5 separate regions of the Homo sapiens genome follow, and regions 2, 3, 4 and 5 are each linked to region 1. Evidence: promoter capture Hi-C in 16 types of primary human blood cells and fetal thymus (Javierre and others, 2016). All regions are on one chromosome and are shown on one strand. The core of a region is centred on a gene start or on the middle of the fragment in contact, and the rest is flanking DNA. Distances in the headings are between cores, read along the strand shown. Region 1 holds the start of PNOC (prepronociceptin). Region 2 overlaps NUGGC (nuclear GTPase, germinal center associated). Region 3 overlaps ELP3 (elongator acetyltransferase complex subunit 3). Region 4 overlaps ELP3 (elongator acetyltransferase complex subunit 3). Region 5 overlaps ELP3 (elongator acetyltransferase complex subunit 3).

Region 1 (4,452 bases), core at 839-3,338:
AGACCATCCTGGCTAACATGGTGAAACCCCGTCTCTACTAAAAAAAAATACAAAAAAAAAATTAGCCAGGCATGGTGGCAGGTGCCTGTAGTCCCAGCTACTCAGGAGGCTGAGGCAGGAGAATGGCATGAACCTGGGAGGCAGAGCTTGCAGTGAGCTGAGTTGGCGCCACTGCACTCCAGCCTGGGCGACAGAGCAAGACTCCGTCTAAAAAAAAAAAAAAAAAAGCTTTCCTGGAAACCCCACCCAAGGACCTGCAGCTTAATGCTCATTGGCAACCCTTGGTCAATGGGAAATGTAGTCTTTTAGCTAAGTGCATTGATGCCTGGAATAAAATCAAGGGTACCGTTTAGTAAGGAAGAACAGGGAAATGGGGATTGGGTAGGCAGCCTGCAATATCTGCCACATCATGTATGAAATCAGGTTCCAGGCCTGAGACACTGAAGTACATCAGGATGCAAAAGTGACCCCGTGTCAGTCAGTGAACATGCTGGTTTCCCAAAGAGTCCAAAATGGTAGCTGCGACCTGCAGTGTAAGGTTTGGGCAACAGAGATCTAAGTGAAGAATCATGAGTATGCTGGTCTCCTGAGCCCTTTTGCTGTGAACACAGACGGAAGGGAAATTTTATTCTCAGAACCTGTTGCTCTTAACCTGAGCAGATGTTTGCTGTCTTTTTCCTATTTTCTTTTTATGGAGATGTAATTCCCATAACATAAAATGCACCATTTTAAAGCATACAATTTGGTGGGTTTTAGTATTCTTGCTATGTTGTGCAACCATCACCTCAGTCTAAATCCAGAACATTTCCATTACCCCAAAAAGAAACCCTATACCATTTGCAGTCAGGGCAGATGCTTCCCTCAATCCTTCTCCACCCAGTCCTGGGTAGACCAGAGAGCTGGACTTAACCACATGAATGAGTGCTTGAGCTCCTTGGATGACATAGGTTCAAACCCTGGGATTCTGGAATATTTTAGACCCTCTTAGGAAAACCAAGGACAGGGTCATGGTGAAATTCACCTAAGGTAAGGAAACGTGGGGTCCACAAGGATGCTAAACCCTCAAGCCTGTGCCTTCAGCCTGTGAGCTCCTTTCCTGCAGCCCACAACCCCCGGCGGCTGTAGAAGACAAAGAGGCTCTGCAGTAAGGGACAGGGAAGCTTCCAGAGCTTCTGAGCCTCCAGGGCCCTCGGTAGTGATGCCCTAAGTTGCAGAAGCTTTAAAAGCTCTCTGTTGTGACACCAGACACTGATATGGGATTTCTACATCCAGGTGGTACTAATCAGTGTGAAAAGCGGGCTGAGAGGAGAGGGAGGATGCAGCACATTCATTAAGGGCCTCGTGTGTTGTAGATTCAAACAGAATCTCCTTTTTCTACTCACAACCATCCTGGGCAGTATTAGACTCATTTTCCGGAAGGAGGACTTGAGGTTCACAAAGAGATGTGCCTTGCTCTGACTGTACAGCCGAATTTCAGACACTTCCATCTGAGCCTCGAGTCTCAGCATTCTCCATTGCACCATGCTGTGGGCACCTGTGGAAATGCCTCCTGACCTGGCCCAGGGCAGGTGCAGCCACCTCTTGAGTGGCCTAGTTAGGGGCAATGACATTAGGTCAGGGCTTGGCTTAGCTCAGCCCTGGGCTCCTCCGAGTCGGTAGGAGCTTGGCATGAGCTCCCCTCCCTTCTGCCTGCCTCCTATTCTTCACTCCTCAGGCAAAAAGGTTGCTCAAGGAGACTCCAGGATTTGGGGTCTGCCTCGTCACTGTCACCAGGAGGCTTTTTTTCTGACTTGCCAGAGCTCCCCATCAGTCCTCACAGAGCCTCTGGAAGCACAGGGAAGGCAGCTGTGGGATCCTGGCTGAACAGAGTCCAGGTGAAGCAGGCTTGAGAATGGATTGATGGGGAGGTGGGGATGTCACAGGTCTGATGGCAGAGCCGGGGGAAGGGAACAGCCAGGAAGGCTTGCAGGTTCTGCTGTTTGGTTGCTGAAGGGGGTCAGTGTGTGTATGTGTCATGGAGGTGGGCAGGGAAGGGGAGGGCTGTGCGTGGGGGAGAGGATATATATGCTGGTGTGGCTGAGAAAGCGGAACCGAGCCTCGCATCCATCGGAGGGAGCCGGGGACTGACAGCTCTCAGGTAGGCAACTGCACGGGGCCCCCAGCCCGACCGCGACTAACTGGACTAACTGCGTGGAGCTCCGGGAGGGCAGGGCCACCAGGGGCTGGCTCCTCGGCCTCTCTCCTTTGTCCAGTGTGGATGCTGCTGGCCTCTTGCGAGATGGTTTCTTCATTCATCTCCTTTGTAGCGCTTGGATGGTGGGGAACGGGGGAGGGCTGAGTCTCTTTTTTAACCTCAGACAGACGCAGAAGCAGAAAGAGGGGAACTTGGAAATGAGGAAAAGTTTTGCTTCCCCAGCTGTGGCCCCTACGTGGTTGTTGCTCTGTGTCGAGAGGAGGCTGCTGGAGGAGTGAGGCCAGAGGAGGGGCAGGCACTTGGGAGGGGGTTTGCCTTCCACGGGGCGGCCCCCAGGAAGACCCTGGCCCCCTCATGAGGGTTTCCTCTCAGTGGCTTCCTTTCCTCTCAGATGCGGTGCGCAGGCTGCTTCTCCGCCTATCACTGAACTTGATGCCATCCAGATGGGAGTTTTTAATCCGGAGGGAGCCCTTCTCCCTTCTGCCCCCAGCAGAAATTGCTACAAATAATGGGGAAGCGCCAGATCTGGGGAGTGTGCTTCACCTGTATACACACACTGCTGAGCGCCACGGCGTGTGAATTCCAGAGAGCATTTCTACGGGCGTGACCTTGGTCTCCCAGAACCCGATTCATTTAGAGGGCTCTTCTCTTGCTTGGCATCCCTCTCCCCCTGCCCATCTCCCCCACCTAAAGGTCTTTGCCCAGGTCATGCAGAATACTCCGTTCATAGTCACCGCATCCCAACTCTCGAGGCTCTCTCAGCCACCTTCTTTCTTCCTCCTCTCTTTGTGCATCTCTCTCCCTCGAGTCTTGCTTCCCCGGCTTCACTACCCAGCCCCTCCTCCCCGAATCTCGCTCTGAACATGGGCAAGTTCTGGGGGAATTTCAAGTAAGGCAGGATGATTCGGGAAATGGACTATTTAAAGCAAGCTGCTTTGGACTTGAATACCCCCATCCTGCGCTTAAACATCTGTGTTTAGCTTCCTCAAGCAGCCCATAATTGCCCCAATTATAACCAATAACATTGTTCGGCAGACTAACAAAAGATGAGCTTTGCACGGCATTCGCCAGCAAGCCCAAACCAGAGTTTTCAACATAGATGGGAAAAGTAACTGCCTGGCTTCTTATCAAAACCTCCCAAAGCAAATACTGCTCTTTTTCGCTGCTTGTGGGTGGCTACTGCATGCAGCCTCTTTTTTTCTCATTTGTAAAGTGTGGCAGGGAAATATTCTACAAGCTTACACTGAGGCTATGTTACCTTTAACAAAAAGGATTCGTGCTCCTTTGGGCTTGCTGAGTCTTCTGCAGAGGAGGGTCCCTGGAAAACCCATCCCCAACCATCACCACCTCTGTAAAAGCATGTGCCGCCTGGTGCTGCCTGGCGAGGGCGCTGTGGTACAGCCTCGGGTCATTTTGAGGGCGCAGTTTTGTTGCGCACAGGGCAGCAGCCCCTGCTTTATCAGCTGAAGGCTGAGAGTACTTACGGATTTGTAAAATGCAGGCGAGTTTGCATTGTCAGTGAAGGGAGTGATTGCAGGATTAGGCTCAAACCTGTGCTCCCTGGAGCCTATGACAAGAGCTGTCACTAAGCTATCCTGTATTCAATCAATCAGGTAGTTACCGTCTACACTCCACCAGGCAGGGAGGCTTGCAGGGGCTCTAGTAGATTCAGCAGAGGTGATAATAACAGCACTTTACATTTGTACAACGATTTAGGCGCTTTCACACCTATTATCCCAGCAACAGCCCTGTGAGGTGGTGCCATTATCTCGGTGTTGCAGTTGGAGAAACTGAAACTGAGAGATTAAATGATTTATTCAGTACATGGCAGGGTCAGGACTGAGCCAAGGCATTGTGGCTCCAGTTCATCTCCCCGTTACGGTCAGGGGTGCTTATGAACTCATAGTGGGGTCGGGGGTAGAGGAGAGACGTAACACAAACATGAGAAACAATTAGAGGACCATGCAAGGCAGGGTGTAATTCAGTCCTAAATCACATAATCCAGAGAGCAAGTGCTAGAAGAATTCGGGAGAAGGAGCATTTCCTCCAGGCATTCCTGGGATCCTACCAAGTGAGAAGGCAGGTGGAATTTGGATGGGTGAAGGGCTTTGAAGAGGGAGGCAGCAGCCAGGTCAAACACATAAAATGAGGGCAAAGGAATTAACATTTCTTGAAACCCACTCTGTGCCAGGCAGTGAGCTAAGCTTGTCTACGTGCTTATTTCATGCTAATACACACATGCACATATGCACACTGGT
Region 2 (4,452 bases), core at 633-3,132, 240 kb before region 1:
GTTTCCCATGTGTAAGGCAAAGACTGAACTAGTCCTTAAAGTGTGAGTGTTCTCTGATTTAGATGGGTGCTAAAAAGACACAAATTCTCATTTTGAAAATGTCACCTGTCATTGAAACTGAGACCGTACCAATGATTAGGGCTTCCGTGTGGCCAAGAGCAGTACACCAAGAGCACTGTGATTTCAAGTGCATTGTATTAAGGAGAAAATGAGCTACAGGAGTATAGTCCTTCTTCAAATCATCCTGCAGTCTATTTCCCCCCAAAGGGAAGGAATGGTGGTGTTCATTGTGAAAATTTGGTTTCTGTGGAGAAGCAATTGATAACAGTCCAAATTTATTGCTCAGATAAGCAAGGTTCTGCCTGTGTGGTTTATTTTGCTTGTATTTCAGCTATGTGGTTAGCACTGAAGTTTTGCTTTTAGTGCTTATTTACATTCATGTGCACTGAACCTAAGAATAGCATCTTTTAAATAAGACTGTGCACATTCAGCTAGATATAGGAAGGCTGCACAGAACTGATTTCCTGATAAATAATTGTAACTTTTCACAGTTATTCTTGCTTCTCTCCCCCTCCTTTTCTTCTGTTTGTGTTTGCTTATTGTTTTTTTTCTTACAGGAAAATCACAGAGGCAACACAAACGCAGGTCATTCCTGTACTAGAACAGCTGCATATCATGGCATTGAATAAAGAATGCGGGCCGGGTGCGGTGGCTCTCGCCTGTAATCCCAGCACTTTGGGAGGCTGAAGCAGGTGGATCACAAGGTCAGGAGTTTGAGACCAGCCTGACCAGCATGGTGAAACCCCATCTCTACTAAAAATACAAAAATTAGCCCGGTGTGGTGGCACGCGCCTGTAATCCCAGCTACTCAGGAGGCTGATGCAGGAGAATTGCTTGAACCCAGGAAGTGGAGGTTGCAGTGAGCCGAGATCACGCCACTGCCAGCCTGGGCAACAAAGCGAGATTTCGTCTTAAAAAAAAGAATGCTAGGGCCCCTTCTTCTACAGATCCAGACCCTGAGGACCAGGAAGGGGAAGAAACTTGTCCAAGGTCACATAGTAAGATTATGGCAATGAGGGCTGAAACTCAGTTTTCCTGACTCCAAGTTCAATGTTCTTTTCATCACATTCAGCAGCCTCTAATAGGCACTATTTAAACAAGCCCCCTGGAGCTCAGGCATAGGGCAATGGAAGGAGTAGTGCCCGCAAAGGAGGGTTCCCTCAAATGCATGGCAAAGGCATTTCATGAGAAGGAAGGCTGTTGAGTGGGGAGAGAGAGTAGCAACTTGATAGAATTGTATGCAGGAACTGAAGCTGAAGCTACTGCCTGCAAACTGCTTTTTTGTTTTTGTTTTTGTTGTTCTTTGTTTTTTTGTTTGTTTGTTTGTTTGTTTTGAGATGGAGTTTTTGCTCTATCGCCCAGGCTGGAGTGCAGTGGCACATGATCTCAGCTCACTGCAACCTCCGCCTCCCAGGTTCAAGCGATTCTCCTGCCTCAGCCTCCCGAGTAGCTGGGATTACAGGCACCTGCCACCATGCCCGGCTAATTTTTGTATCTCTAGTAGAGACAAGGTTTCACTATGTTGGCCAGGCTGGTCTCGAACCCCTGACCTCAGGTGATCTGCCTACCTTGGCCTCCCAAAGTGCTGGGATTACAGGCATGAGCCACCATGCCCAACCTTACTGCCTGCAAACTTGAAGACACCCTCAGAAGTAAAACAAGCCAGAGAGAGAGAGAGAGACTATCAGAGGAATACATTTTCACTGCATTTTTTCTGTGTTCAATGCAAAATTCAATGTGTTTATTACAAATGACAAATGTCCTTTTCTTTTCCCCTAGTTATTCTCCTTAGGCAGAATCTCATTTCACCCTACCTTGCCTCGCATCATTAACCCTTGCCAACACTATTTACTTACTTAAATTTAAATGCTTAAATTAGCAAAGTTTCTCAAAGGGGCATTTTGGTCATTAACATTGGTTTACTCTCTACTTTTAATAAATATGGGAAGTACTTGGTACACAGCAAGCACTAAATAATTTGTTGAATGAATGATGATAGATATAATTTTTTGTATCTATATCTAGATAGATCTATCTAGATCTAGATATAGATATATATCTTAGATGGTAAGATCAAGAATAGCAGAAATTATATTTACTATTTTATTTATCCATCCATTCATTCAACAAATATTTGTGAGTGCCTATGATGCACCAGGCACTGTTCTAGATACTGGGGGTACAGCAGGAAACAATGTGGTCACAGTATCTGCAAACAAAGGGCTTCCATATTCCAGATGTGAATGGTGGAGCAAAAATTATTAGGGATTTGGAGTCAGAATGCCTGGATTTTTGCTCCTGCTCCCAATCTTCAATGCAACACAGAGCAAATCACCTGATCTCTCTGAGCCTCTATTTCTCCACATATAGGATAGAATTGGTTTTAAAAAAAATACCTGTATCAAGAATTCATTGGCCAGGCATGGTGGCTCATGCCTGTAATTCTAGCACCTTGGGAGGCCAAGGTGGGCCGATCACTTGAGGTCAGGAGTTCGAGACCAGCCTGGTCAACATGGTGAAACCCTGTCTCTACTAAAAATACAAAAATTACCTGGGCATGGTGCAGCATGCCTGTAATTCCAGCTGCTTGGGAGACTGAGGCAGGAGAGTCACTTGAAGCCAGGAAACAGAGGTTGCAGTGAGTTGAGATCGCACCACTGCACTCCAGCCTGGGCAACAGAGCGAGACTCCACGTCAAAAAAATAAAAAATAAAAAAGAGTTCGTTGTGAGAATTAAATGTGATAATGAATGCAAAATTGCTCTGCAGGCACTTATGCATCTGTACAAATGTTATTTTTTGAATATTTTATGAAGGTAGTTAAACTAGAAATCAGTACTAGTGTCATCCAGGCCACGTCTGTTAGTCTTTGGGGAACAGATGCCACCTTAGCTGAGATTCTGACTCCCGTTCTTGTCCCTATTGATCAAACACATTGAGGATGCTCTACCATCTTCCTTAAAGAATCTTCGATCAGCTGGGTGCAGTGGATCACACCTGTAATCCCAACATTTTGGGAGGCTGAGCCGGGCAGATCATGAGGTCAGGAGTTTGAGACCATCCTGGCTAACTCGGTGAAACTCTGTCTCTACTAAAAATACAAAAAATTAGCCAGCCGTTGTGGCACATGCCTGTAGTCCCAGCTACTCAGGAGGCTAAGGCAGAGGAATCGCTTGAACCCGGGAGGCGGAGGTTGCAGTGAGCTGAGATCATGCCACTGCACTCCAGCCTGGGCAACAGAGTGAGACTCCATCTCAAAAAAAAAAAAAACAATCTTTGGTCAAGTTTTTTCTTGCTCTCACAAGAAGGTGAGCTGAAGAATGAAAGAAGGAAGAGGAGGAGACTGTTAATGAAATGATAGAATGTTGATGAAATTTAGAATTTATTTCCTTTCTCTTTGAGTTTGGGTTTAGGTTTAAGTAACTTTGGTGTTGGCAACATTTCCTAACCACCTCGTTGGCCACTGCACTGCTCTTCCAAACTAGGGATGTCCCAAGGCAGCAATTTAAACACATTAGCTCAGAAGCAAAAGTGAAACAAGGGCCTCCAAATCTCTAAAGGAAAAGAGGTATGTTTTCAGCATTAACACATCGGCTAATGTGTTCAGAATTAGAAATGTGGCCACCAGAAGCAGTCGTAGTAGAAGGGAGGCTTTAGGATGACATGTTTTTCTCCATCTTTCTTCCCTAGGTAAAGAGGTAAGCAAAATAAGCAGATATTTTCATAACGTACTTTAGCAGATTCTAGCGAAACGAATTTGAATCTTCTCATATTGCTCTCCCAAGCTTGTTAAAGCTAATGAGGCATAAGATGACACTTCCCTCCTTATCAGGAATTCATACACCTGCCAGCAATTTCTGCAATAGCTGTTTTCTTTTGGGAGGAATGATTAATGACTTGCCTAAGATCACACTGTTCTGTAAAATTCAAACTAAAACCTGATTCTCCCCATTTCTAGCCCACTGGCCTTTTTACATAGCCTTAAAATTCACTTAAACAGCCTGAGCATGGTGGCTCATGCCTGTAATCCCAGCACTTTGGGAGGCTGAGAGGAGAGGGGATCCCTTGGGCCCAGGAGCTTGAGACCAGCCTTGGCAACAAAGTGAGACCCTCATCTCTACAATTTTTTTTTTAATTAGCTGGGCATGGCAGCATGTATCTGTAGTCCCAGTTATTCAGGAGGCTGAGGCAGGAGGATTACTTGAGCCCAGAAGGTGAAGATTACAGTGAGCCATGTTCATACCACTGCACTCCAGCCTGGGTAACAGACCGAAGCCTCAAAAACAAACAAACCAAACCCCCAAAATTCACTTAAGCAAACAGAAAAGTAAAATTCACTTTCCCTCAAGAAATAACTTGCTTTAAGAAAATCAAAGGAGAGAGAAGAGACAAA
Region 3 (4,452 bases), core at 730-3,229, 220 kb before region 1:
TCTGAATCATTCTTTGTACCGATAATATTCTTACCTTCCTTAAACGTTACTTTCAACTTTTTATTTCCAAAGTTGAGAATATGCAATTCTTCACTGTCTGTTGCATTCCATTTCAATGCCTTTGCCTAGTGGCCAGGGTCCCCTGTAATCTGTTCTTTATTACACCCTGTTAGAAAGCTGGATTTTAGTTAGGCTGTGCTGTTTCACACAAAGATAGGTAATTCCTATGCCTGACATTATTTCTTCTGGATTGCCTTCTGTTTTGCATGTCCAAATCTTGCCCTATCTTTAAAGATCCCTGTGCCATTTCCTTCATGAAGTCTTTTCCTACTCATTTACTCTTCCAGTTCTTGATACACTCAAGAGCTATACAAGTGGTTTCCAAATCTTATCTGTTCTTATCAGCCGATCCCCTTTTACCCTCCAAATAAATTCTTACACAGAACCTCAATATATAAACAGCTGAAAGCAGAGCTGCTGTGGTGGAAATAAAGAGACCTCCTCCTTTTTTTCCTCCATGCCTTATTTTCCTCTTCCCTTCTCCCTTCCTCTGCCATGACCACCACCAGTCCTACCTCTGTTGCATGGCCCCTGAGGCACCTTTGTAGAACTCTGGAAGTGCTGAGTTACATGGTTTGGAAAGCATTTAGCCTTTGAGTATAGATGGACTTTATTTCTCTCAAAAATTGTTGTGTATATGTTAGCCTTGCCTCATTAAATTAGATGCAGTGTGTTACAGTGAAAAAAGCATGGAAGTTGTGGTGAAAAGAGCTGGATTTGAGTCTTGGCTCTGCTGTTTACGATAGCTTGTTAACTTGCCTTAGCCTCATTTTTCACATCTATAAAATGGGATAACAGTACCTACCCTCCGTGTTACTGTAAGGGTTCAAATGAGATAAAGTAAATGTGTGGGCTCCATAATTGCCAGGGCCTTCCATCCACGCTTTCATTATGTTTTAGCTTTCTCTGCAGTGTGAGTCCTCAGCCCCCTGGGCCACGGACCAGTACCGGTTCATGGCCTGTTAGGAGCTGAGCCAGACAGAAGAAGGTGAGCAGCAGGCGAGCAAGTGAAGCTTCATCAGTATTTGCAGCCACTTCCCATCACTCATGTTACTGCCTAAGCTCTGCCTCCTGTCACATCAGCAGTGGCATTAGATTCTCAAAGGAGTCTGAACCCTGTTGTGAACCGTGCATGTGGTGGGTCTAGGTTGTGTGCTCCTTATGAGAATCTAATGCCTGATGATCTGTCACTGTCTCCCATCACCCCCAGATGGGAGTGTCTAGTTGCAGGAAAACAAGCTCAGGGTTCCCACTGATTCTATGGGAACAGAATTCGTTATGGTGAATTGTATAATTATTTCATTACATATAACAATGCAGTAATAAAAATAAAGTGCACAATAAATGTAATGCACTTGAATCATCCTAAAACCACCCTGCTCCCCTGGTCTGTGGAAAAATCATCTTCCATAAAACCAGTTCCTTTTATCAAAAAGGTTGGGAACCACTGCTCTACAGGTGAGAAGCTTGCTTGCTGACAGCTTCCAAGCTGATATCCCACAGCTTTTGTCCCTGGAAAAAGACTGGCATTTTTTACCTTGAAGAAAAGAGCTCAGATTGGCCTGGCTTAGAGATATGCCCATCCTTGAACCAATCCTTGAACTGTGCTTGAGTGGATGGCGTCATACAAGAACCTGTCAGCTTCTGCTGTTGCCTTTGGATGAGACCGAGAGCCCCAGTTGCCAGAAGTTCATGATGGTGGACAGACAATATTTTAGAAATGCATTAAGATTCTTAGGCAGATACCTGGGTTTGAGTTTCAACTTTACTCCTTGATAGCATCTTCATGTAACAGGCACATATTCTTGTTCTGTCTACCTCTGTTCTGAGAATTACCTGAATTCATGCATCTAAATGTTCTTTATGAACTCTAAAGTATTATGCACATATTAGTAATTACACCTCTGGAGATAAAGGGAAGAGAATTACTTTGGTCCTTTCCTGTGTGATTAAGTTCTTTCTCCTCACATTGTTTCTACTCCTGTATCCTTTCCTGTATTTATTTTTAATAATCTCATAGAGTATGTGCTTCTAAAGGGAGCTTTTCCCATATATATGTAAAGCCACGTTTGTTTTAAAGATACAAAAGATATGATCAAATTGTAAACAGTAGAGATTTAGCATCTTCTGAACTTGAGCTATTCATTTGGCATATTTGTATGGTTTCGGATGGAAAACTGCTACTAAATCAGATTTTAAAATCTTGATTGAATGATACGATTTTTGACATTGTTGAATATTAACTTTCCAGGAGATCTCAGCCCTGCTGAGCTGATGATGCTGACTATAGGAGATGTTATTAAACAACTGATTGAAGCCCACGAGCAGGGGAAAGACATCGATCTAAATAAGTAAGTGGATATAAAGAGAGAGCAAGCTTGTTCTTAGGTAGCAGATCTCTTTTATGAAATTATCTAGTACTACTTGTTTTCCAGCTCAAGTTTTATTTTAGTTGAGAATTTTAGCTTTCTGCCTTGCCTTGTCATTCATTTCTTTTTTTTTTTTTGCAAGTTCCGCCTCTGGGGTTAACGCCATTCTCCTGCCTCAGCCTCCTGAGTAGCTGGGACTACAGGCGCCCGCCACCACGCCTGGCTAATTTTTTGTATTTTTAGTAGAGACGGGGTTTCACCGTGTTAGCCAGGACGGTCTCGATCTCCTGACCTCGTGATCTGCCCACCTCGGCCTCCCAAAGTGCTGGGATTACAGGCGTGAGTCACCGCACCCGGCCGTCATTCATTTCTTGATGGCAAAATTGTCTCAGCTTAAGAATACTAATAGCTTCTAACATTTATTGGGCACTTACTGTATTCCAGACACTGTTGCTAATGCATTGTATGTATTAGCTCAGTTAATCCCCTCAAAATTCTGTGAGATAGGTACTGATACCAGCCACACTTGACAGGTGGGTAATCTGAGTCAGAGAGCAGTTAAATAATTTGTCCAGGGGTAAGTAACTAGTAATTGGCAGAGCTGGGATTTGGAATTAGGTCAGCCGTCTCCAGAGCCCATGTTCTTCTGTGCTGCATCGCTGCACATCCTACTTTCCTTCCCTACTGTCTCAGCTGAAGCAGCAGCTTTCTGTCAGGAAAACCCTCCCTTTGGGGCCCCTGATCTAATCCAACCCTCCCCTGCTGTAGAACCTCTTTGACACATTCATCCACTTCCTCTCCATAATCATTTTCAGCTTGGACTTTCCTACAGTCTCAAATAAGAGTTGTCTTTCATCTCTGCATCTATTTTTTTTTTCAAACTATAATATATATTCACTCTATGTAGATCTTCCCTAATGAAAGGGTTCTCTCCCCAACCCCAGGTCGTCTAATCATCACATACAGGAATGACCTTTTCTTAGACTCTCTTCTCTGATACTTGAGATGCTGCAATATTTTACCCCTTCCTTGAATCCTCATGCTTAGTAAATATTTGCTACAGGAATAAGTAAATATCCTCTTTTGACTATAAAGTTATTGTATTTTACTGATTTTTCTACCGTGTCTTTAGAAGTTTTTCTTTCTTTTTTTGTTGGTTATACCCCTGATTATACAAATCTTTAATTTCTAGTGAACATTTCTACATCTTATATATATTTGTTGTTCTCTTTAATTTAGCACATCTAAAGCTAAAGCTGCCATCGTCCTTAAAACTCGCCCCTCCTCAGATGTCACCAGCCTATTACTGGAAGGTCTCTCAGTCTGGCTTCAACCTGCTTTTCCAAGTTTTTAAACCTCTGTACCTTTACATTGAAAATCTTCTGCTTTCTGTCAAGTTGGTCTGCTTGTATTTCTTAAAATATATGCATTCCTGTTTTTGCATCTGCACATAAATCAGCCTGTCTGCCCTCCATGTCATCTTTGTGTCTTTAGTGACTGAGACCTACTCTTTCTTCTGTGCTCATTTCCATGAATATCTCCCCAGCACACATCAGATTCCTCCCTGAACTCTGGAAGCATTCATTGTTGGTATGTGTGTGTGTTTTATGACATATGTTTTAATCATTTATACATTAATTTTCTTGGTACGCCTGTCTGCAAACATGTAAACATAGAACATGAAAGGACTGTGCCTTGCACATTTGAACATAGCAGGTATTCAGGCAGCCTCTTGTACGTGTTAGGTCCTCAGTTAATATTTGTTGACAAATATGTGAGCACTTCACAGATATTTCTAGATGGATTAAAGTTAGAAGACAGGGTGACTGTTAAGAGTTTGGCTAGGAGGCACAAAGAAAAGCTGGTAAAAGTTTTTTTTAAACTTTCAAAAATATGTACTTTATTTCCTATTTGGTTCTGCATAGCCATCCTTGATTTTTTTTTTAATTGTTGTTGTTGTTTTGTCTAAGACAGTAGTTGTCAACCAGGGGTGATTTCCTCCTCAGGACATTTGGCAATGTCT
Region 4 (4,452 bases), core at 1,088-3,587, 180 kb before region 1:
CCCTTTATTCTGTAGGATTTGGGTAGGTGTGATTGGTGTTGTGCCAGGAGAAGGAAGCAAAGGGGAACTAGGGAAACAAGCACTGATCAGCATCTTAGAAACAACCAAGAGGAATGCCAGGCCGAGGAGGATGGAATTTTCCCTTAAGGAATAGAGATCTGTTGAATATTTTTTAGCATGGGGAAGAATCTCATGGATATCATGTTTAATTAAGAAAGAGTAACCGAATAGGATGCTCTTATGTGGGAAAAGGCTTCAACCAGGGAAACTGTGGAGTGCTGTAGCCTTCAAGGGCTGTGCTAGAGAGACAGTTGTGCAGATGGAGGGGAAGGGGGAGCTTTCTGAAGAATACGACATCTGAGTTGGGACTTCATGGAAGAGTCTGAGTTGGTCAGGTGCAGAAGAGGAAGATTGAGGCAGAAAGAAAATAATGAACTCCTAGAGATGGGAGTGCCATAGCACATTTGAGGAATTTGGAGTGGCTTAGTTTGATTAGAATGTGAAATAGGAGAGTGATAAGAGGTGAGGCTGAAAAGCAGGCAGAGGGGCTGATTATTAGGGGCCTGAGGAGTCAGCCCAGGGAGGCTGGACATGAATCTAATGGAGCAAGCCACCAGCACGCATAAAGCTACAATGTGATGGAGCATATCTGCAGCTTAGAAAGATCGCTTACAGTGTAAGGGGCAGTCAGAGAAGAGCAAGTTGGAAGGGAGATCAGGTACGAGGCTGTTACAGAAATTAAGCAGGAAATACTGATGTCCTGGAAAGAAGTGAATGGTGGTGATTGGTGACTGATTGGAAGTGAGGATAAGAGAGAATGGGAAGTCAAGGAGGCTTGGAGAGAATGTGGGTTTCATTTGGCTACACTAAGTTTCAGATACCTGTAGAATAGCCAAGTGAAGGTTTGCTTTAGAGCAGGGCTAGGCAATAGACAGTTCAGCAGTGATCAAAATGTTCTGTGCCTGCAACTGAGTTTTCCATTTTAATTCTTCTAAATATAAATTTTAATAACCACATGTGCCTAGTGGCTGTCATTTTAAATAGTGCTGCTTTAAAGTATTGGTTATTTGGGTTTGGAATTCATGAGAGAGGCCTGGCCTTGTCCTAGGAATTGGGAAGTCATCAGCAAAAAGACATTAGAAATTGAAGCCATGGAAATGGTTGGGAGCATTCTGAGAGAGTGAGATGGAGTCTGTGGTTTCTAGGATCCTTCTGCCGTGAATGGGAACACCTTCGTGGCAGAAGGATAGCCACAAGACTTCAGTTTAGTTGCCCAAAACTATTGTTAGGACTTGTTTCCTGCTGGATTGGCTCTAGAATGCCAAGTTAAGATGATTTATCCACGTGACCCCAAATGACTCTGCCTTCTCACTAAGTCATTCTCTCTTTCTACTGTTATTTAAGGATCCTCCAAACCCACCAGTGAAATCTATTTTGTATCATAGGTTTCACTCTTCCTCCCTGTCTACAAATAATTTCACAAGATCTTTAAAGGAAAGAACATAGCAGCTTGCTGCTTCTGCATGGTTTTGAGCTCATTTTAATTTTTAATACAGGTATTTACATTCATAAGCTTATTTTGACTGGTGATGCTAAACCAAATAATTTTAATACACATTAACTTTTGCCATCCCAATGCTTTACTTTCAAGACTTTAAGTAGATGTGTAAGAGAATTTCTGAGAAATATCTCAGAAATAAAGTTATTTACTTCCAGGCCTCCTGAGAGGTGGGGATGTAAAAAATGACTTTCTGAGATGTCTTTTCCCCCAGCCATATGATTTTGGTTATGGAACTTCTGTTACCTGTCTCAGAGATTGTTTTCCCCTTGTTCCTTGTGTTAACTTTGTCACCCATTTATTTGTGTAACAGATGTTACACAAATAGGTAGTGATTTTCACAGGTAGTGATTTTCTTTCCTTAGGGGCCACACTGTGAAGGCAGTGTGTGAGTCATTTCACCTGGCCAAAGATTCCGGTTTTAAAGTGGTGGCCCATATGATGCCTGACCTGCCAAACGTGGGACTAGAAAGAGACATTGAACAGTTCACAGTAAGTGTGACTTCAGCCAGGCGCATTCAGAATGGCTCTGCATGTTTCTTATCCCATCTGGTCTTGTTGCTTGTTCACTGTTGATGTTTTCCAGTGTTAAAGAAATGCATCCTTATTATAGAATATTAGAAACACAGTAGGGTAAGAGACATCACCCATAGCCCCATCAGACAAAACTCTTAACATTTTAATGAATTCTTTCCAAGATTTTTCTATGCATAGGTTTTTTGGGGGGTGAGGTTGTTTATGCAAATATAACACAGACATACAAATATATATGACATAGGAAATTATTGTAATAGTTTTTTCACTTAACATTTTAACAAGCATTTATCCATGTTGTAGCCTGGTCTCTGTTAACATGTTAACATATTTAAATGTCTTTTTAATTTAATATGTCATACCTTGCTTAAACCCTTGCAAGTTTTTCAGAATTTAAGATATACTGGTTTTTTAATATTATTTAAAAAACACTGCAGGTAAATGACTTTATGTGTATAATTTTTTTTAGTATTTAGGTTTATCTGTTTATGATAAATTCCATGGAGTAGAATTATCAGGTAAAGGTAGAAACATTTTAAGAATCTCACTGTATTAATAAGTTGCTTTGCAGAGAGTTATAACAATTTATACTCATTTCAGCAGAGTTTTTCTTCCCAAATAATTCTCTCCTGTTTATTTTCTATATATGCTTATAGATGCATATGCACATATGTACATATATTTTACTGTTTGCTAGTTTGATCAATAAAAGTGCCATTTTAACTTGCATTTTGAAATTGTAATAATACATTTTTCAAGTTTGTATTTACTAATTACATTTCTTTCATCTTTTTGGAATTGTGTGTTTTTATCCTCTGACTCATTATTCTATTGAGATAAGAATATTTTTAGTATTAGTTTATATGAATTTTTTAGGTAAGGAGATTATGGACTCATTGGTTTTTATATTTGTTTTAAATATTTTCCTTAACCTATTGTTGACCTTTTACTTGTGCTTCCATTAAGTCGATCTTTTTTTTCCTTTTTTTTTTTTTTCTTCAAATGCCTCTAAGCTTAGAACTGCCTTTCTGTTCTTTGAATTTTAACTCTGGGTTGTTTTATTGTTGTTATTTTAACTCTCACAGTTTCTTGATCCATGTTAACTTTGTTGTGGGAAATGAGATTGGTCAGGCCTTTTGTTTTTCTTCAGATTCTCCGATAGGGCAAGTGTGTTTTAAGATGATGACGATATTTATCAAGTTATTTCATCTATAAAAGTACTTTTAATTTGCTCTGTTTAGAAAAATGCAGTTTACCATGTCTTATTTGTGAAGTTAATAATTCTTTCCTCTCAAGAAGTTTACTTTTATTATTTTTTAAGCTGGTGAACTGCACCTGAGGACCTGTTTATGAGATAACATTAATTCACAGATATCCCTCTTCGTAATTCCCCCACAATGGATATGTAATAGACTGTGAGTCTAGTATCCTCCCCTCAGTAACTAATAGCCAGGTGCTCAGACACCAGGCCAAAAAGGCACCTGAAACACACTTTTTATTATCATGATTATTATTATTATTATTATACTTTAAGTTCTAGGGTATGTGTGCACAACGTGCAGGTTTGTTACATAGGTATACATGTGCCACGTTGGTTGGCTGCACCCATGAACTTGTCATTTACATTAGGTATTTCTCCTAATGCTGTCCCTCCGCCTGCCCCCCACCCCACGACAGGCCCCGGGGTATGATGTTCCCCACCCTGTGTCCCAGTGTGAAACACACTGTTCTTTAGCACAGCTCCTAGGGAGACCAGTAGGATAGCCAGAACTCATAAAGTTTAAGTGCTCCTGAAAAATATAGTATGTTTCATACTGTAGGAAGCCATAGCAAATAGCTGAGTCTCAGTACATATTTTCCTTGGTGTCTTCAACATAAGGAATAGTTCAGTAATAACATTGCAAGGACAACCTTTCTTGTAAACAGATTTATTTGCTTGTTTGTAGTCTTTGCAGGGAAACTCACAGGGAATATGAGTGGATCATATTTCTTTTCTAACTGCATCCTAGTAAAGAGTAACAGAAGGGAGCTAAAATGAAAAATCTGAGTTCTTTCTAGAGAAGAATTCTCTACAAATTAAATTGTTTTAAAATAAATAAGTTTTAGAAATTGATAAGAGGCAAACAGCTCAGTAGGAAAATGGGCAAAAAACTTGAACAAGCATTTCACAAAAGAGAATATTCAAATAGCCAATAAACCTATCAAAAAGTTCTCAAAGTAATTAATCTTCAAAAAAGCGAAATTTAAAACTACATTTGGTCTCAGTTTTCTACAGCACCTTGGTCTTGTATTGTGGATATAATTTATCTTTTCTTATCTCTCTGAAGAAATTTATTACAGATTTTTTTTATACATTTTAT
Region 5 (4,452 bases), core at 541-3,040, 160 kb before region 1:
CTGGGGAGCTAATGGAGGGAAGTTGTCCTGTTGGTTGAGAGATGGGTTCTGCAGCCCCTTCTGTGGGCTGGGTAGGCTCCGTGGGCGAGTCTCTTACACATCGTTGTCCTGGATTATCTCCTCTGAGTCCATTCTACAAAGGAGACTCTTAAAAACCGTGTTTTCTACCTATGGTAACAGAGCTGATGAGAGTTTAATTGATGCCTCTTTTAAGGGTTTGAGATTTTTTAATTGGTTTTTGGTGCATTGGGTAATTAACTTCTCAGTGACCAGTTTCCTACATACAGTCATCCTTCAACCCACAGAGGCCCTACCTTTAGGCCTCTGCTCTCTTCCTATGTCCAGCCATCCATGGTATTCCGCACCTCTTCATTCATTTTCTTCTTAATTAACTAAGGATACAGAGAGGAGCACTGCCCCAAGTGTAGTCCTGAGATGCTATCTCATGTTCCTAAATGCAAGAAGGCTGTTGTGTGCCTTAGAGAAATTACATGTGTTAGGTAAGCTGCTTTGAGTTATAGCGCTGTCCTTGAGTTATAGTGCTGTCCATGAGTTATAGTGCTGTGGCCATGAGTTCAATGTTAATGAATCAGCTATATGTTAAATAAGGTGCCTTTAAACAGAAACATGCATCAAACAAGGTTATGCATTGATCAGTTGAAGATGTTTTAGGGGCTCACAGGAACCTAACCCTGTATATCCCCTGTGGACAATGCTTTAGTATTCACTAATTCAGTATTCACAACAGCACAACTATCATGAATAACAAGAATTAAATGTATTTGTCATGTAATGGGCGCTAACACTGGTTGCCACTGACTTTATCAGATTAATTTTGTGCTGTGTATGATGTTTTAAATTTTAAGTTTTATATATTTCTTATATGTGTATATATGAGATGTATAGCCATATATTTAATCTATATGATGTATAGCCACATATTTAATAATTTATATATTTGTGAGTTCTTTATAAATTATTTCAGGGTAAAAAAGGGCATTTAGAAGACTTTGGCTTGTACAATCTGAAACAGTAAAATTTTAAAAATATACATATGTTCCTTGCCAAAATTAACCATATTTTTTACTTTAGTAGCCTTCATTTAGCGTCATCTGATTACTAATTTTAAAATGTATTTGATTTTAAGAAAATTATAGTTCCAAAGATAGAAATTTATTTTACTGATAACTGTTAAGTAAGCCATATATGCTAACTCTGGTCACTCTAATATATACATTTTATGTCACTCTCAGTTTGAAAGCTCCAATGTGTCTTTGCCTTAAAGAATTTTGACTTATCTTTGATTTATAGAGTTTGTATGGCAACTCTCCTGGCTTCCAGAGCCTAACAGACTTACTTGTATAGCTTTTAAAGCTAATCGATTGGCTTTTGATACTTTTGCTGGAGGAATATCTTATTAAAATCAAATGGATGAAGTAGCTAATTGTATTTAACATTTGAAGGGATAAGTGAAAAGAGGAGGAAAAGACTCAAGTTGATTCAAAAGCAAAATGAGAAGAAAAGATAATTGGCATATTCTCCACATCTTTCCTCTGATCAACCACATAGGAGACAAAACAAATTAGAGACTTGTCTTTGAACAGGAAGCAGATGTGCCGAGCATATTTTTACTTCAGATTTTGTTAACTATTTTATCTTTAGATACTGATTTTTGTCTAGAGGAGAGTGTTGGAGCAACTAAAATGGAACTCATAACTTCAGCTCTTGATGGAAGTTTCCTTGATGCCTGGCACTTTATGCTGTATTAATGCCAGGAAATAAATTTTATTTCCTCCTGTCTTTAGGCAAGCTGTTATTCCTCTAATGCACAGTCACTTTTAACTTAGATTTTTGAGAAACAAGGAAAAAAGATTTAATCTTTGAGACCAGTTGTTGGCTAAGGCAGGCGTTTGAGCATCCCAGTTACTTGTCATTCAGCAGCTGTGTGGGAAAATGTAAGCTACATTGTTGAACAGATTTTGTAAAGGAAAAAATTTATTTCTTGATTTATTTGGTACAAATGTCTCTTTACTCAAAAAATCTTTACAAATGGTTATTGGGCATTCAGTCATTTGCTTAGCACTCTGTAATTTTATAAAGTGATTTCCATCAGGTGCCTTTCACAGAAACCCTGAAGGTCAGGGGAAATCATAATTTCCTTGATGAGAAAGCTGAGGCATAGAGAAGCTCCTTGTTAGGAGGCTTTGCCTCTGATTTCCTGGTCAGCTTCATAGGTTTTTTGCTTTTTTATTTTTGTTCTTTTTAACTTTTTTAATATCCTTGCCTTACTGCTGTGGAGAATGATTTCTATTTTGCAACAGCTTATGTTTTTCTCCTGTGTACAGGGATATTCCAATGCCTTTAGTTAGCTCAGGAGTAGAGCATGGTAACCTGAGAGAGCTGGCACTTGCAAGAATGAAAGACCTCGGAATACAGGTAAGAGCAAATATGGCGGTCAGGCCACAACTGTTGAGAAAAAGAGAAATCTGAAACACGAAAGACTTTGCCACTACCACCCCTAAAACCAGACTTGCGGGTCAGGTCAGAAAGCTCCCAGATGTTGAAAGCATAGTCACTGAACTGTGTCGGAGCTGAAGCCAGTGGTGCAGGGGCTGCCTCCTTTTCCTTCATTCCCTTCTGCTTTCTTCTGCCTGCTCAGATTGCCAACTGTGTGCCCCACTCCAGTTTTTAAAAACAGTTTTTCTTTTGAAGTATTAGGTATTCAGTTATTGACTGAAGGAAAAGGAGACGTGAATCCTGAAAGGAAAGTATAATCATTTGAAAAGACAAGTATTATGTGCATGAAATAATTGCCAAAACTGCTATTGCCCCACATATACCAGTCTCCTATCCCTCTGGCCATTGAAGTCCCTTCTTCGCTCACAGATATTTACTAAACATCTCCTCTGTGCTGGCCCAGGATATACAAAGAGCCCAAGAACCTGCAACTTAACAGTCTCTGTGGGAAATTCTTAAGTCATAGGAAGGTTTAAAACTCCAGTGCTCAGGAACTTCTTAGAGCTGCTAAAGGGATAAACCAGGAGTGGTGTTGAGACCAAGGGCCGACTCCTGGGCTCTGCCTTCATAGATTCTGGATCAGTAGATTGGGATGGGACCTATCTGTTTGTTATCCAGCACTAGGTACATGGTTCTCATGCACAATTCAGATTTGGGCCACACTTTGAAAGACATGGTTCCAAGGATTGCATATGGTGTTTGTGGACTTAACCTAAGACATTTTATTCTCTCACTCAAATTATTAGGGAGAAAATGTTTCAGAAGATTGTTCAGGGGAGAGTTTGTGAATATTATTGGCATATTCTACCAAAAAAAAAGTGAACAATTTTATGTTCCAGAAAAATAGCAAAGGACACCAAACAAGATTGTGTGCCTGCTTTGCCTCCAAGGCTCCAGCTGTTTGTGTTCTCCATCTCCTCTCGCCTCCAAGAAGGCCACTGACCTTCAAGAAGGCCAAGGTGACTGACCTGGCCTGGTTATCCCAACAATCTCGTTATCCATCCATCTTCTTTAACCCTCACCCCTCATAAGCCTTGTTAGCCTCTATTAAAGTAAGCTGGGATTGAGTCCAAAGGCTGGAATTCAGTCATAGCCAAAATATATCTAGTTCCTATAGGCAACATCTTGAGCAGAAAATAAGCACACACCAATCTCTGCCTTTAAAAAAAGCATGCCAAAAAAAAAAAAAAAACAGAAACAGCATGCAGATGTTCATTAAGAACATGGAACAGTAATACATTCCCATGCTAGCTACTATATAGAACTATTGTAGTGAAAGGACAGCAGCTACATTAAGTAGATTAATAATTACAGAGATTGATCATCTTCGTCTGCTGTACAGTTTTTGTTTACTGGAATTCATGGACTCTACATCAGCAAAGCATTGTCTTGAGCTAGTTCCTGGGGTGTGGAAGTAGCTTTAGTTTTCTACAACTGAATAATGAGCTCTTATTTTTCTCTTGGAATTCTGTACATATATAGCAGTCCTTCATAAAAATACTATTACTAGAAAAGCTTATGTGACATCATCAAATTTCCCACAGTGATCTTTTCTTACTGGAAGAAAATGTTTATGGTTTGTTCTATGGGGGGGAAATATACCATAAGATATATAATTGAATAATTACAATGATTTATAATAATGAAAAGGATTGTGTAATTGTAAATGTCTGGTAGCATAGCATGCACTGTGGGTTGTGGAATAGAAGTGAGAGCCACATCACAGATGCTTGGCCATGCAGACCAGACATTGCATTGGCATTGTCTGCAGGCAGCTCCATGCCTTCTCAGATATTCAAGAGCCATTTGTGATTGTGCTTCAAAGTATGTAATACATAGCTCTAGGTTCCTCCTCCCTCCCTCCCTCTCTTCCTTCCTTCCTTCTTTCCTTCCTTCCTTCCTTCCTCCTTTCCTTTCTTCCACAGTGCCCTTCTT

What was found. Contacts are between HindIII fragments. The CHiCAGO score rates a contact against its expected background, and 5 or more counts as called.
Region 2: a fragment that was not itself captured here is called in contact with the fragment with the promoter of PNOC in region 1 in 16 of 17 cell types (M0 macrophages, M1 macrophages, M2 macrophages and 13 more); the score reaches 19.1 in M0 macrophages.
Region 3: a fragment that was not itself captured here is called in contact with the fragment with the promoter of PNOC in region 1 in 8 of 17 cell types (naive B cells, M0 macrophages, total B cells and 5 more); the score reaches 8.5 in naive B cells.
Region 4: a fragment that was not itself captured here is called in contact with the fragment with the promoter of PNOC in region 1 in 5 of 17 cell types (M2 macrophages, M0 macrophages, total B cells and 2 more); the score reaches 7.7 in M2 macrophages.
Region 5: a contact is called between a fragment that was not itself captured here and the fragment with the promoter of PNOC in region 1, in 1 of 17 cell types (M1 macrophages). The highest score is 5.2, in M1 macrophages.

Annotation. Positions count from the first base shown.
Region 1 is chr8:28,315,180-28,319,631 of GRCh38, forward strand. It overlaps PNOC (prepronociceptin), which reads left to right and starts at 2,089. Exons shown (of 4, transcript NM_006228.5): 1 at 2,089-2,137. RefSeq lists enhancers at 3,082-3,594, 3,595-4,106. The HindIII fragment of the contact is 2,214 bases long and covers 1,216-3,429 here.
Region 2 is chr8:28,078,563-28,083,014 of GRCh38, forward strand. The region is part of intron 1 of NUGGC (nuclear GTPase, germinal center associated); the gene reads right to left. Among named protein-coding and RNA genes, the nearest start is that of NUGGC, 3.1 kb to the right of the region's middle. RefSeq lists an enhancer at 532-661. The HindIII fragment of the contact is 3,920 bases long and covers 1-3,842 here.
Region 3 is chr8:28,094,908-28,099,359 of GRCh38, forward strand. ELP3 (elongator acetyltransferase complex subunit 3) reads left to right here. Exons shown (of 15, transcript NM_018091.6): 2 at 2,312-2,411. Among named protein-coding and RNA genes, the nearest start is that of ELP3, 4.0 kb to the left of the region's middle. The HindIII fragment of the contact is 911 bases long and covers 1,525-2,435 here.
Region 4 is chr8:28,130,355-28,134,806 of GRCh38, forward strand. It overlaps ELP3 (elongator acetyltransferase complex subunit 3), which reads left to right. Exons shown (of 15, transcript NM_018091.6): 9 at 1,924-2,050. Among named protein-coding and RNA genes, the nearest start is that of ELP3, 39 kb to the left of the region's middle. The HindIII fragment of the contact is 1,532 bases long and covers 1,572-3,103 here.
Region 5 is chr8:28,153,597-28,158,048 of GRCh38, forward strand. ELP3 (elongator acetyltransferase complex subunit 3) reads left to right here. Exons shown (of 15, transcript NM_018091.6): 11 at 2,346-2,436. Among named protein-coding and RNA genes, the nearest start is that of ELP3, 63 kb to the left of the region's middle. The HindIII fragment of the contact is 4,480 bases long and covers 1-4,030 here.